Linked DNA regions of Homo sapiens: region 1 is linked to region 2. The links are contacts of gene promoters, found by promoter capture Hi-C in blood cells and fetal thymus (Javierre and others, 2016). All regions are on one chromosome and are shown on one strand. Each heading gives the region's core, a stretch centred on a gene start or on the middle of the fragment in contact. The rest is flanking DNA. Distances are from core to core; before and after follow the strand shown. Region 1 has its middle 35 kb from the start of MIR1279. Region 2 holds the start of LRRC10 (leucine rich repeat containing 10).

The links. The method cuts DNA at HindIII sites, captures the fragments that hold promoters and counts their contacts. A CHiCAGO score of 5 or more calls a contact.
Region 1: a fragment that was not itself captured here is called in contact with the fragment with the promoter of LRRC10 in region 2 in 1 of 17 cell types (total CD8 T cells); the score reaches 5.0 in total CD8 T cells.

The regions. Positions count from the first base shown.
Region 1 is chr12:69,305,092-69,311,519 of GRCh38, reverse strand. No RefSeq gene overlaps it. Among named protein-coding and RNA genes, the nearest start is that of MIR1279, 35 kb to the right of the region's middle. The HindIII fragment of the contact is 1,318 bases long and covers 592-1,909 here.
Region 2 is chr12:69,609,417-69,615,543 of GRCh38, reverse strand. LRRC10 (leucine rich repeat containing 10) reads left to right here and starts at 4,637. Exons shown (of 1, transcript NM_201550.4): 1 at 4,637-6,127. The coding sequence starts at 4,706. The coding sequence ends at 5,539. The HindIII fragment of the contact is 9,863 bases long and covers 1-6,127 here.

The sequences.
Region 1 (6,428 bases), core at 1-2,500, 300 kb after region 2:
ACTGTGGTGGTGGTTATACAAGTTTCTACATGTACTAAAATTGCATAGAGCTACACACACACACACAAGTATATGTATAACTGGTGAAATTTAAATAAGCTCTATAGGGCTGGGTGCAGTGGTTCACGCCTATAATCCCAGCACTTTGGGAGGCTGGGGCAGGATGATCACTTGAGCCCAGGAGTTCAAGACCAGCCTGAGCAACACAGGGAGATCCCATCTTTACAAAAGGTTTTTTAAAAAAAATTAGCCAGGTGGCACATGCCTGTAATCCCAGCTACTTGGGAGGCTGAGGTGGGAGGATCACTGGAGCCTAGGAGGTCAAGGCTGTAGTGAGCTGTGATCACACTACTGCACTTCAGCTTGAGTTACAGATTGAGACCCTGTCTCATAAATAAATAAATAAATAAATAAATAAATAAATAAATAAATAAGCTCTATAGATTGCACCAATATCTATTTCTTGATTTTGAGACTGTACTGTAGTTGTGGAAGATATTGACATTGGGGGATGCTGGAGGAAGACTGAACAGAATTTCTCTGTTATTTCTTGGCTGCCACTGGTGATATAATTACCTCAAAGTAAAAGCTTTTAAACAACTGCTATGAAATTCGCAAATAAAAAATATTATTTATAATAAATAGATTGGCTAGATATAATGAAAAAACTTCTTGAATTTCAAAAAATTTGAAAAAATTTGTTGAACTTTCTTAAAAGTAAAACCTACTTCTTTTTTTCCACCTCTCATTGAGAATCTTTCAACAGAATCATCTTGACAATTAGAGGCTTGGTATGGACAAAACAGGCCAGTGAGAAATATATTTATCTGGTTTCCTAATATTCATACTGAGCTGGATATTCTGTCATTTTAAGAAAAAGAAAAAATAAACCAGGCATGAAAATGTACCACTTATCTTTAATTATTTTTTCTGGGTGTATCACAAGTTACCTGGACCTCAATACTGTTTTGTTTTATGATTGTAAATGGAATATAGATGTTGCAAAATTGTAAACAACAGACTTTTTTTTTTTTTTTTAAATGAAACAGGGTCACACTCTGTTGCCCAGCAGTGGAGTAATCATGGCTAATTACAGCCTTAAACTCCTGGGCTGGAGGAATCTTCCAAGTAGCTGAGACTACAGGTATGTGCCACCACGCCTGGCTAATATTTTCATTTTTTGTAGAGATCGTCTCACTGTGTTGCCTGGGCTAGTTTTGAACTCCTGGCCATGGGTGATCCTCCCACATCAGTCTTCCAAAGTGCAGGGATTACAGGCATAAGCCACCAAGCCCAGGTAAAACCATTTTTAAAAAGAAAGTGAATTCCCTCAGAATCCCACCCCAAAGAAACCACACATATTTTTTGGTAAGTCAGATAATTCAATATATACTATTGAATAATTTGCTTTTTTTCACAGCACAATATTTCATACACAAATTTCTTTGCCAGTGCTCCCCGTTATTGCCATTGTTTGGATGTACTATAGTTTATTTAACCAATTTCCCATTGATGGACATTTGGATCCTTCCAATATTTTTATTACATTTATTTAGTATTTTGAATAGTTTGTCTGTGTTTGCTGTGTATTACCCCAAAAAGTAGCAGTGGTTTAAAATAATAATCATTTATTTCACTTATGATTTGGTGGACTGCAGCTCTTCTGGTCTAGGCCACCCTGGCTGATTGCTGGGTTTTCTCAGATGTCCGTAGTTAGTGGTTGGTTGGCAGCTAGGTGATTTCAGATAGCTTCATTCATACGTCTAACAGTAGGCAGGCTGTTGTCTAGAATCATAGGAGGCAGCTAGTCTCTTATCATCCAGAAGGCTAGCCTAGGTTTATTCACATAGTGGCAGATTTCCAAGAGCAGACTGAGGTCTAGCCCTAATCCACAAACACTTTTCAAGCTTCTGGTTGTGTCATCTTTGCTAATGTTTCATGACCAAAGTGAATGATATGGCCAATCCAGAATTGAGGAGTGAAGAAAACAGACCTTACTTCTTGATGATAGGATCTACAACATTACATTACGAGGGCACAGATGTCAGATTAGGAAGAAATTGTGGCCCTGTGTTCAATCTACCACAAGGAGATGATACAATCACATAGTTTTAGATAGATACAATGTTAGAAATCAATAACCATCATATATACAAACAACAACCAGCTAGGAGAGAAAATAAAATATTTTACTTTCTTTTTTTTAATTTAATTTAATTTAATTTAATTTATTATTATTATACTTTAAGTTTTAGGGTACATGTGCACAATGTGCAGGTTAGTTACATATGTATACATGTGCCATGCTGGTGCGCTGCACCCCAACTCGTCATCTAGCATTAGGTATATCTCCCAATGCTATCCCTCCCCCCTCCCCCCACCCCACAACAGTCCCCAGAGTGTGATGTTCCCCTTCCTGTGTCCATGTGTTCTCATTGTTCAATTCCCACCTATGAGTGAGAATATGCGGTGTTTGGTTTTTTGTTCTTGCAATAGTTTACTGAGAAAGATGATTTCCAATTTCATCCACGTCCCTACAAAGGACATGAACTCATCATTTTTTATGGCTGCATAGTATTCCATGGTGTATATGTGCCACATTTTCTTAATCCAGTCTATCATTGTTGGACATTTGGGTTGGTTCCAAGTCTTTGCTATTGTGAATAATGCTGCAATAAACATACGTGTGCATGTGTCTTTATAGCAGCATGATTTATAGTCTCTTGGGTATATACCCAGTAATGGGATGGCTGGGTCAAATGGTATTTCTAGTTCTAGATCCCTGAGGAATTGCCACACTGACTTCCACAATGGTTGAACTAGTTTACAGTCCCACCAACAGTGTAAAAGTGTTCCTATTTCTCCACATCCTCTCCAGCACCTGTTGTTTCCTGACTTTTTAATGATTGCCATTCTAACTGGTGTGAGATGGTATCTCATTGTGGTTTTGATTTGCATTTCTCTGACGGCCAGTGATGGTGAGCATTTTTTCATGTGTTTTTTGGCTGCATAAATGTCTTCTTTCGAGAAGTGTCTGTTCATGTCCTTCACCCACTTTTTGATGGGGTTGTTTGTTTTTTTCTTGTAAATTTGTTTGAGTTCATTGTAGATTCTGGATATTAGCCCTTTGTCAGATGAGTAGGTTGCAAAAATTTTCTTCCACTTTGTAGGTTGCCTGTTCACTCTGATGGTAGTTTCTTTTCCTGTGCAGAAGCTCTTTAGTTTAATTAGATCCCATTTGTCAATTTTGGCTTTTGTTGCCATTGCTTTTGGTGTTTTAGACATGAAGTCCTTGCCCATGCCTATGTCCTGAATGGTAATGCCCAGGTTTTCTTCTAGGGTTTTTATGGTTTTAGGTCTAACGGTTAAGTCTTTAATCCATCTTGAATTGATTTTTGTATAAGGTGTAAGGAAGGGATCCAGTTTCAGCTTTCTACATATGGCTAGCCAGTTTTCCCAGCACCATTTATTAAATAGGGAATCCTTTCCCCATTGCTTGTTTTTCTCAGGTTTGTCAAAGATCACATAGTTGTAGATATGCGGCATTATTTCTGAGGGCTCTGTTCTGTTCCATTGATCTATATCTCTGTTTTGGTACCAGTACCATGCTGTTTTGGTTACTGTAGCCTTGTAGAATAGTTTGAAGTCAGGTAGTGTGAGGCCTCCAGCTTTGTTCTTTTGGCTTAGGATTGACTTGGCGATGCGGGCTCTTTTTTGGTTCCATATGAACTTTAAAGTAGTTTTTTCCAATTCTGTGAAGAAAGTCATTGGTAGCTTGATGGGGATGGCATTGAATCTGTAAATTACCTTGGGCAGTATGGCCATTTTCACGGTATTGATTCTTCCACCCATGAGCATGGGATGTTCTTCCATTTGTTTGTATCCTCTTTTATTTCCTTGAGCAGTGGTTTGTAGTTCTCCTTGAAGAGGTCCTTCACGTCCCTTGTAAGTTGGATTCCTAGGTATTTTATTCTCTTTGAAGCAATTGTGAATGGGAGTTCACTCATGATTTGGCTCTCTGTTTGTCTGTTGTTAGTGTATAAGAATGCTTGTGATTTTTGTACATTGATTTTGTATCCTGAGACTTTGCTGAAGTTGCTTATCAGCTTAAGGAGATTTTGGGCTGAGACAATGGGGTTTTCTAGATATACAATCATGTCGTCTGCAAACAGGGACAATTTGACTTCCTCTTTTCCTAATTGAATACCCTTTATTTCCTTCTCCTGCCTAATTGCCCTGGCCAGAACTTCCAATACTATGTTGAAAATATTTTACTTTCAATAGCAATAAAATAATTTTTTAAAAATCCAGAAATAAATCTAATAAAAGACACATAAGATCTATATGAAAGAAAAAAGGTGTTAAGGAACATAAAACTTGAACAAATGGAAAAGTCTATTATATTCTTGATTAAGGAAGACTGATATAAAAATATCAGTTCTCTCAAAGTTGGCCTACAAATCTAAATAGATCCTAATGAAAATATCAAGAAGATTGGTTTTATTTTTTGAAAGTAGATAAATTCTAAAGTTTATACAGAAAAATGAATATGGTGATTTTAAAATGTCTAAAAATTCCTTAGGAAGTACAGTTTAATTCCCTTCTCCCTAAAGTGTGACTAGCTTACTTCTAATGAATATGATAAAGTGACAGTGTGCCATTTCTGACATTAAATCATAAAAATTATGTGTCCTTCTCCTTGCTTTCTCTCTCTTGGATCATTTGTGCAGGGAGAAGTCAGTTGTAATGTCAGAATATTCAAAAAGCTCTATGGAGAGGTCCATGTAGTGAGTTACTGAGTGAGGAACAACAAGTGAGGAACAGAAGCCTCTTGCTAAAACTAACTTGGAAGTAGATCCTCCAGCACCAGTCAAGTCTTTGGATGACTCCATCCCCAGCTGATATCTTTTCTACAATCTAATGAGACACCCTGAGCCAAAACTACCCTGGAAAGTGACTCCTAAACTCCTGACATACAAAAATGATGAGAAAATAAATGTTTATTATTTAAGCGATTACATTTGGAGGGAAAATTGTTATACAGCAATAAATAACTAATATAATGAATAAGCAATAATAGACATAAACCTTAAAGGCAAGAATAATAAAGGGGGATTAACCCGATTATATAGTAAAACATATTCTAAAGCTATAATAATTAAAACAATGTGGTAATTGCATATGAATAAATATAGATATCAAAGGAGTAGAATAGGAGGTTGATAAATATGTACATATCCACTGAAAAAAGTTAGTGTATGAAAATGGCAAAATTTCAAATCAATAGGGCAAAATAAGGATTATTCAATAAATGGCATTGTAGGAAATGAAGAGCTAGCTGAAAAAATAAATTATATCCATACTTCACATATTATACGAAAATGAATTATGGATAGATCAAATATTTAAATAGTAAACATAAAAAAGGATTTTAAAAATTATGGGAAAATTTTAAAAAGAAAACCTCTGAGTGGAAATATAGAAGCCTTAAGAGATTAGTAAGTTTACTTACACACACACACATTCTCCATGGCTCAAACATTGTGGACAAAGATAAATGACAAACTGGGAAAATCTTTGCTGCTTGTATCAAATATAAGGTAACTGATCATCTGAATTTATAAAGGAGAGAATATAAATTGATAAGAAAAAGACCAACAACCCTATGAAAAAAATGAGTAACAGACAACTGACACAGAAAAGGAAATACACATGGCTTTTAAATAAATAAAAAGATACTTAATAACCCTCGTAATATAAGAAATGTGAATTAAAACTACAAACTGATGCTACTTTTGATCTAATTAGTTGGCAAAAATCAAAATGCTTGACAAAATCCTATGTTGGTAAGGGTAAGGGGAAACACTCTCATATCTTGCTAGTGGGAAAATGAACTGGTACAATCTCTTCAAGATCATTTTGGCAATTTTGTTATCTGTCAAAACTACAAATTTACTCAGCCAATCCATTTCTAGGATTATGTCTCATAAATATATATAGTCACACGTGTAAAATGACATGTATAAAGTTATTCTCCTTGGCATTATTTATCATAGCAAAACACTGGGAAAAACTTAAATACATTGAAGAGGAAACATTAAATAAATCATGTCACACACATAAAATGAGATAATATGGAGTCATAAATAAGATCAAGGAAGTTAATTATATACAGATACAGCATGTCTGCAGGATACATTTAAACATTAAAAAGCAAGGTGCAGATGCTTAACACTGTGGGAGGCAAAATAGTTTACTGACTTTCAGCAAGTCACTAAACAAATGGAAAATCAAAGAGTAATAACAAACCCTGGAGGAGGTAGGAGATCAGTACCCAGAGTTTGTACATTATTTGACATGTCCAGTTTGGAATACTGGCAAGTATATTACACAGCACAAAGGAGGTGGATGGGAGCAAAGTTGTATTG
Region 2 (6,127 bases), core at 3,388-5,887:
TTGTCTCTCCCTTTTTTTTCTTTTGTGCGTGTGCGTGTGTGTGTGTGTGTGATGAAGTCTTGCTCTTGTCACCCAGGCTGGAGTGCAGTGGCATGATCTTGGCTCACTGCAACCTCTGTCTCCTGGGTTCAAGCAACCTCTGTCTCCTGGGTTCAAGCGACTCTCCTGCCTCAGCCTCCCAGCTAGCAGGGACTACAGGTGCCTGCCACCACGCCCGGCTAATTTTTGTATTTTTAGTAGAGAGAGGGTTTCACCACGTTGGCCAGGCTGGTTTCGAACTCCTGACCTCAAGTGATCCCCCACCTCGGTCTCCCAAAGAGTGGGATTACAGGCGTGAGCCCCCATGCCCAGCCTGTCTCTCTTTTTAAATTTAATTTTATTTTTAAGACAGGGTCTCACTCTGTCACTCAGTCTGGAGCACAATGTCACAATCATGGCTGACTGGTCAACCTCCTAGGCTCAAGCAGTCCTCCCACCTCAGCCTCCCAAGTAGCTGGGACTACCGGTGAGCACGCCACTACACCTAGTTAATTTTTTAATTTTTTGTAGAGCCAGGGTTTCCCTGTGTTGCCCAGGCTGGTCTTAAACTTCTCTCACCTTAGCATCCCAAATTGCTGGGATTATTGGCATGAGCCACCACACCCAGCCTTTTCTTCAACTTTTGATGAGATGTTCTCAAGCCTTCTATTATATTTTTTAATTTTATTTTTTAAATTGTGGTAAAATATGCAAAAATTTCCCATCTTAACCGGGTGTGGTGGCTCACACCTGTAATCCCAGCACTTTGGGAGGCAGAGGCAGGTGGATCACCTGAGGTCAGGAGTTCAAGACCAGCCTGGCCAAAATGGTGTGCACTCCATCTCTACGAAAAATACAAAAAAAAAAAAAAAAGCTGGGCATAGTGGCACACCCCTGTAGTCCCAGCTATTCAGGAGGCTGAGGCAGGAGAATCACTTGAACATGGGAGGCGGAGGTTGCAGTGAGCCGAAATCGTGTCATTGCACTCCAGCCTAGGCAACAAGAGTGAAACTCTGTCTCAAAAAAAAAAAAAAAAAGATCCTGTTTTTATTTTTATTTTCTTTGGATATATACCCAGAAGTGGAATTGTTGGATCATTTGGTAATTCTATTTTTAATTTTTTGAGGAAACACCTTCTGTTTTTCTTCTATTTTATTTTTAATTGTGCTTTTTTCATATCTTTATTTCCAAGAGCCCTTTCTTATTCTTAGAATATTTCTTTCTTTCTAATAGCATCCTACTCTTTTTATGGATGTTATGTCATCCAAGAAAGGCACAGTATTTGGAACACAGACTGTAGAGCAAGATGATCTGGGTTCAGATCCCTGCTCGGCTGCGCGCTAGCTTGTTCAGGTTGCATAAACTCCTTGTTCCCCAATTTCTTTCTTTATCAAGTGGAAACAATAACAGTACATACATTTTAGGATTGCTGTAAGGATTAAATGACCTAATAATACCACACCCAGCACGCAAGTGCTATCATTAACTCTCTGAAAATATTATGTTATAGTTTATTATTTTCTTCTATTCACTTCATTTTTTTGTCTTGATTTTAAACATTCTTATTTCAATCTCTGATTTTCACGTAGGAGATCTTCTTCAAGTGTTTTGTTATCTAAAGTGCTGCATGGAAATTCCGTTTGGCAGGGCAAAGTTTGTCACCTTGTATGGTTCAACAGGAGCCTACCCTGATAGAATTGTACACTGTGTGAGATCAGGGTTTTATCTATCTTGTTACTCATTTGATTACCTGCATCTAAAGCATAGTAGGTGTTCAGTCAATATTTGATAATATCATTAAACCTCTCTGAACCACACACAGTTTTCTCATCTGAAAAGTAAGGTAAAACATATTTATCTGGCTGGTGTTGCAAGAATAGATTATATATAAGGCACCTGGTAGCAACATTATTATCATTATCATTTCTAGGGATGACACTAGGGCAGCTGCTTCATAACCATTTGTGGTCACCACTGACCATGCTAAATATAGCAGTAAAGCAGAGTTGACAGGCCAGTTATTTTAATACAAATAAGCAAAGCAAGAAGAGGGCTCAAGATAATAGCCCTTGACATTCAATGTGTAGAAAGTCCAGGAAGAACACTGGCTTCAGTCATGACCTGTGAGCAGAAAGTGGGTAGCTCTGCTGCATCACCAAACAGCTCTGTAGAATCGCCATTCACGAGGTGCTTCTCAACAGTGTGGTCCGTTACAAGCAATTCAGCAGCAAAGTCATTGGACGCGGAGCAAGGGTGTGCCAGGCTCCCTCACCCACCCTGAAACTCTATCCAGAGAGCAGGTAGGCTGATGGATTGGTTGTTTTTGGACTAGAGTTTTTAAATTTAAAATGATAAGTGCCTCTAGTTTTTTAAAAAAATCAAGAGTACAAAAGGATGTAAATGGAAAAGTCAGCATCCCTATCACCCACAAACCCTCAGGTAGATTTTCCAGAGTTAATCACCATTATTTCTTACAGATATTTTTATGCACACACAAAGATATATTTTTTCACAGATGGGAATCATTAAAAAACTATTCTGAAATTTGCTTTTTTCCCTCCCTACTTTATTTATCCGGAATCACTTCCCATATCAGTATATGTGGATTTGCCTCCTTATTTTTAGCAACTGCTGTATGTATAAAGTAGTATAAAAGATAAGCCCCCAATCTCGATGACTTCACATAATTAACATTTATTTCTCATTTACCTCAATCCTATTGGGGATCAAGTGGGAGTGAGGAGGGTAAGGAGATGTTTTGCTCTTAGCACTTATTCAGGAATCTAGGATGACCACGGCCCTGCCACCTGCAACATATGACTTCCATATACTTGGTGGCTGCTATAGTCACTCTGGGTGACAACATCCAGCCAGTAGATGGGGAAGGAGAGTGTGGAGAAGGGCAAAAGGTTTGTTTTACAATGAACCAAGTCTAGAGGTGACATCTAACACTTCTGCCCACATTACTTTGGCCAGAACTTGAAGAGTTTCCCCTGTAGACCAGCACTAGGAAATTGTCCTGGCTGGACAGCTGCTTGTCTGGAACAACTGGACACTGTGGAAGGGAAACACAAACCTTTAATGGGTGGTCAAACATACCTGACAAAGGTGCACTGTAGGAATACATCCGAATTTATTTAACATGCAGAAGGCTAGCTTGCTTCTCTTTCTTCTGCTTTTCTACTTATCTTTTGTCAAAGGCAAGTTTTTAAACTGTGGAAAGATATCATCTGATAAGAATGAAGACATGAGAAATTAGAAACCTGTAACCATTGCTGGTGGGTGTGTGTACTGGCTCAGATTTGGTGGGGTACAGAGGAGCCATCAATGAAAAACCTGTAAATGATGCATATCTATGATCCAGCAACACTTTTTTTTTTTTTTTTTTTGAGATGGAGTCTTGCTCTGTCGCCCAGGCTGGAGTGCAGTAGCGCAATCTCGGCTCACTGCAAGCTCCGCCTCCTGGGTTCACGCCATTCTCCTGCCTCAGCCTCCCAAGTACTTGGGATTATAGGTGTGTGCCACCACACCCAGCTAATTTTTGTTTTTTTTAGTAGAGATGGGGTTTTACCATGTAGCCTAAGCTGACCTCAAACTCCTGGGCTTAAGTGATTGGCTCACCTTGGCCTCCCAAAGTGCTGGGATTACAGGCGTGAGCCACCACACCTGGCCTGCTCCAGCAACACTTCTAAGGACGGTTTCTAAAGAAATGAGTGGATTGCTGCTCACATCTGTATGCACATGGATGTTTATAATAGTCATGCTTTGTAAACAACCTAGATGCCTAACCACAGAAAACTGTTTAAATTACTGCACATCCATGTAATGGAATACTATGCAGGGGTTTAAAATAATTGCATAGATATCTGCAAACATGAAAATATGTCCATGATACGTCATGATTAAAAAATAAGGTTCCTGGTCAAGTACCATGGCTCACGCCTGTAATCCCAGCATTTTGAGAGGCCAGGGCGGGCAGATCTCTTGAGCCCAGGAGTTCAAGACCAGCCTGGGCAACATGGCGAAACCTCATCTCTACAAAAAATACAAAAATTAGCTGGGCACGGTGGTGTGCACCTGTAGTCCCAGCTACTCAGGAGGCTGAGGTGTGAGGATTGCTGGAGCCAGGGAGGTAGAAGCTGTAGTGAGCCAAGATTGCACCACTGCACTCCCGCCTGTGTGACAGAATGAGACCCTGTCAAAAAAAAAAAAAAAAAAAGCTCCTAAAGTGCAATTTTAAAAAACAAATGATTACTTATAGCGAAAAGACTAGAGGACACATGCAAATGTGTACAGTATTTATCTCTGGGTAATAGAACTATGGGTGTTTTTCATTTTCTTCTTTTACACCTTTATGTAATGTGTTAATATTTTATCATTAGGGAAAAAAACAGCAAAGCTATTTTCAGCTTGAAATGAAAAAAGGTTGATAAAGGGGATTGGGGCTTAGGTGATTAAAGGCAAGCATGTGAGTCAGACATGGCCTCCCAGCCCCTGCCGGACTGTTGCGCTGTCGCCGGACACTCAAGTTGCTATCAGGAGCACTTTTCTCTGTCAAAGTGACTGGCTTTTGTCATGCAATCCCCAAGTTATAATGGGAGGGTAGGATAGGCCCCAGAGCAGTCAGCTGAGCCAGCCCCGCTCAGTGAGTCTGTCCTCTGGGGCTCGCCATGCCCCCAGCCTCCGCATGGGGAACACCATCAGGGCCCTCGTGGCCTTCATCCCTGCTGACCGTTGCCAGAACTATGTGGTCAGGGACCTCCGTGAGATGCCGCTGGACAAGATGGTGGATCTGAGTGGGAGCCAGTTACGCCGCTTCCCCCTGCACGTGTGCTCCTTCAGGGAGCTGGTCAAGCTCTACCTGAGCGACAACCACCTCAATAGCCTGCCTCCGGAGCTGGGGCAGCTACAGAACCTGCAGATTCTGGCCTTGGATTTCAACAACTTCAAGGCTCTGCCCCAGGTGGTGTGCACCTTGAAACAGCTCTGCATCCTCTACCTGGGCAACAACAAACTCTGCGACCTCCCCAGTGAGCTGAGCCTGCTCCAGAACCTCAGGACCCTGTGGATCGAGGCCAACTGCCTCACCCAGCTGCCGGATGTGGTCTGTGAGCTGAGTCTCCTTAAGACTCTGCATGCCGGCTCCAACGCCCTGCGTTTGCTGCCAGGCCAGCTCCGGCGCCTCCAGGAGCTGAGGACCATCTGGCTCTCGGGCAACCGGCTAACTGACTTTCCCACTGTGCTGCTTCACATGCCCTTCCTGGAGGTGATTGATGTGGACTGGAACAGCATCCGTTACTTCCCCAGCCTGGCGCACCTGTCAAGTCTGAAGCTGGTCATCTATGACCACAATCCTTGCAGGAACGCACCCAAGGTGGCCAAAGGTGTGCGCCGTGTGGGGAGATGGGCAGAGGAGACGCCAGAGCCCGACCCTAGAAAAGCCAGGCGCTATGCGTTGGTCAGAGAGGAAAGCCAGGAGCTACAGGCACCAGTCCCTCTACTTCCTCCTACCAACTCCTGAGGAGCTTCAGTTGCAAGTCAATGCCAAGGACCCAACTGCAGCATGTTCTGGAAGCCTCTCCATTGGAGTGGAAAGGATGGCTCTGGGTCATTTGGGAGTGGCTCTGCTAGTAGAGACTGATGGAGAGAGCCAGGTGGAATGCCATAAATCACACTGAGAAAATATTTCTGGCAAACAGCTCCTCTTCCAGAGGGGAGTTGTGTGCCAATGATGGCATGACAATCCAGAGATCATAACTTCTTTGCAAGAAAACAGCTTCTCCACACATGTATTTTGAAACACTGAAGAGCAAAAGGGGCTGGGACACTCTGAACTCCTGCACTCTCCAGAAGTGACTGGTCATGAAGCTCATGAGCTCCTCAAATAAGGTATTTGCCATAGAACTAAATATTCTGGTGGTCTGTCTCTTTGCAGGACATATTTTCTTTACTGTAAATGACCATAAACAGTATCAATGTATCACTGAGGCCACCGAAAAGGACATTTCTACCTAGGCAATCAGTCAGATTCACAGAAAAAAGTTGTTTGTTGTTGTAAAGGCTCAAGATGAAACTCTTTCCCCAGCAGTTTAGTGCCTGCTGAAAAGAT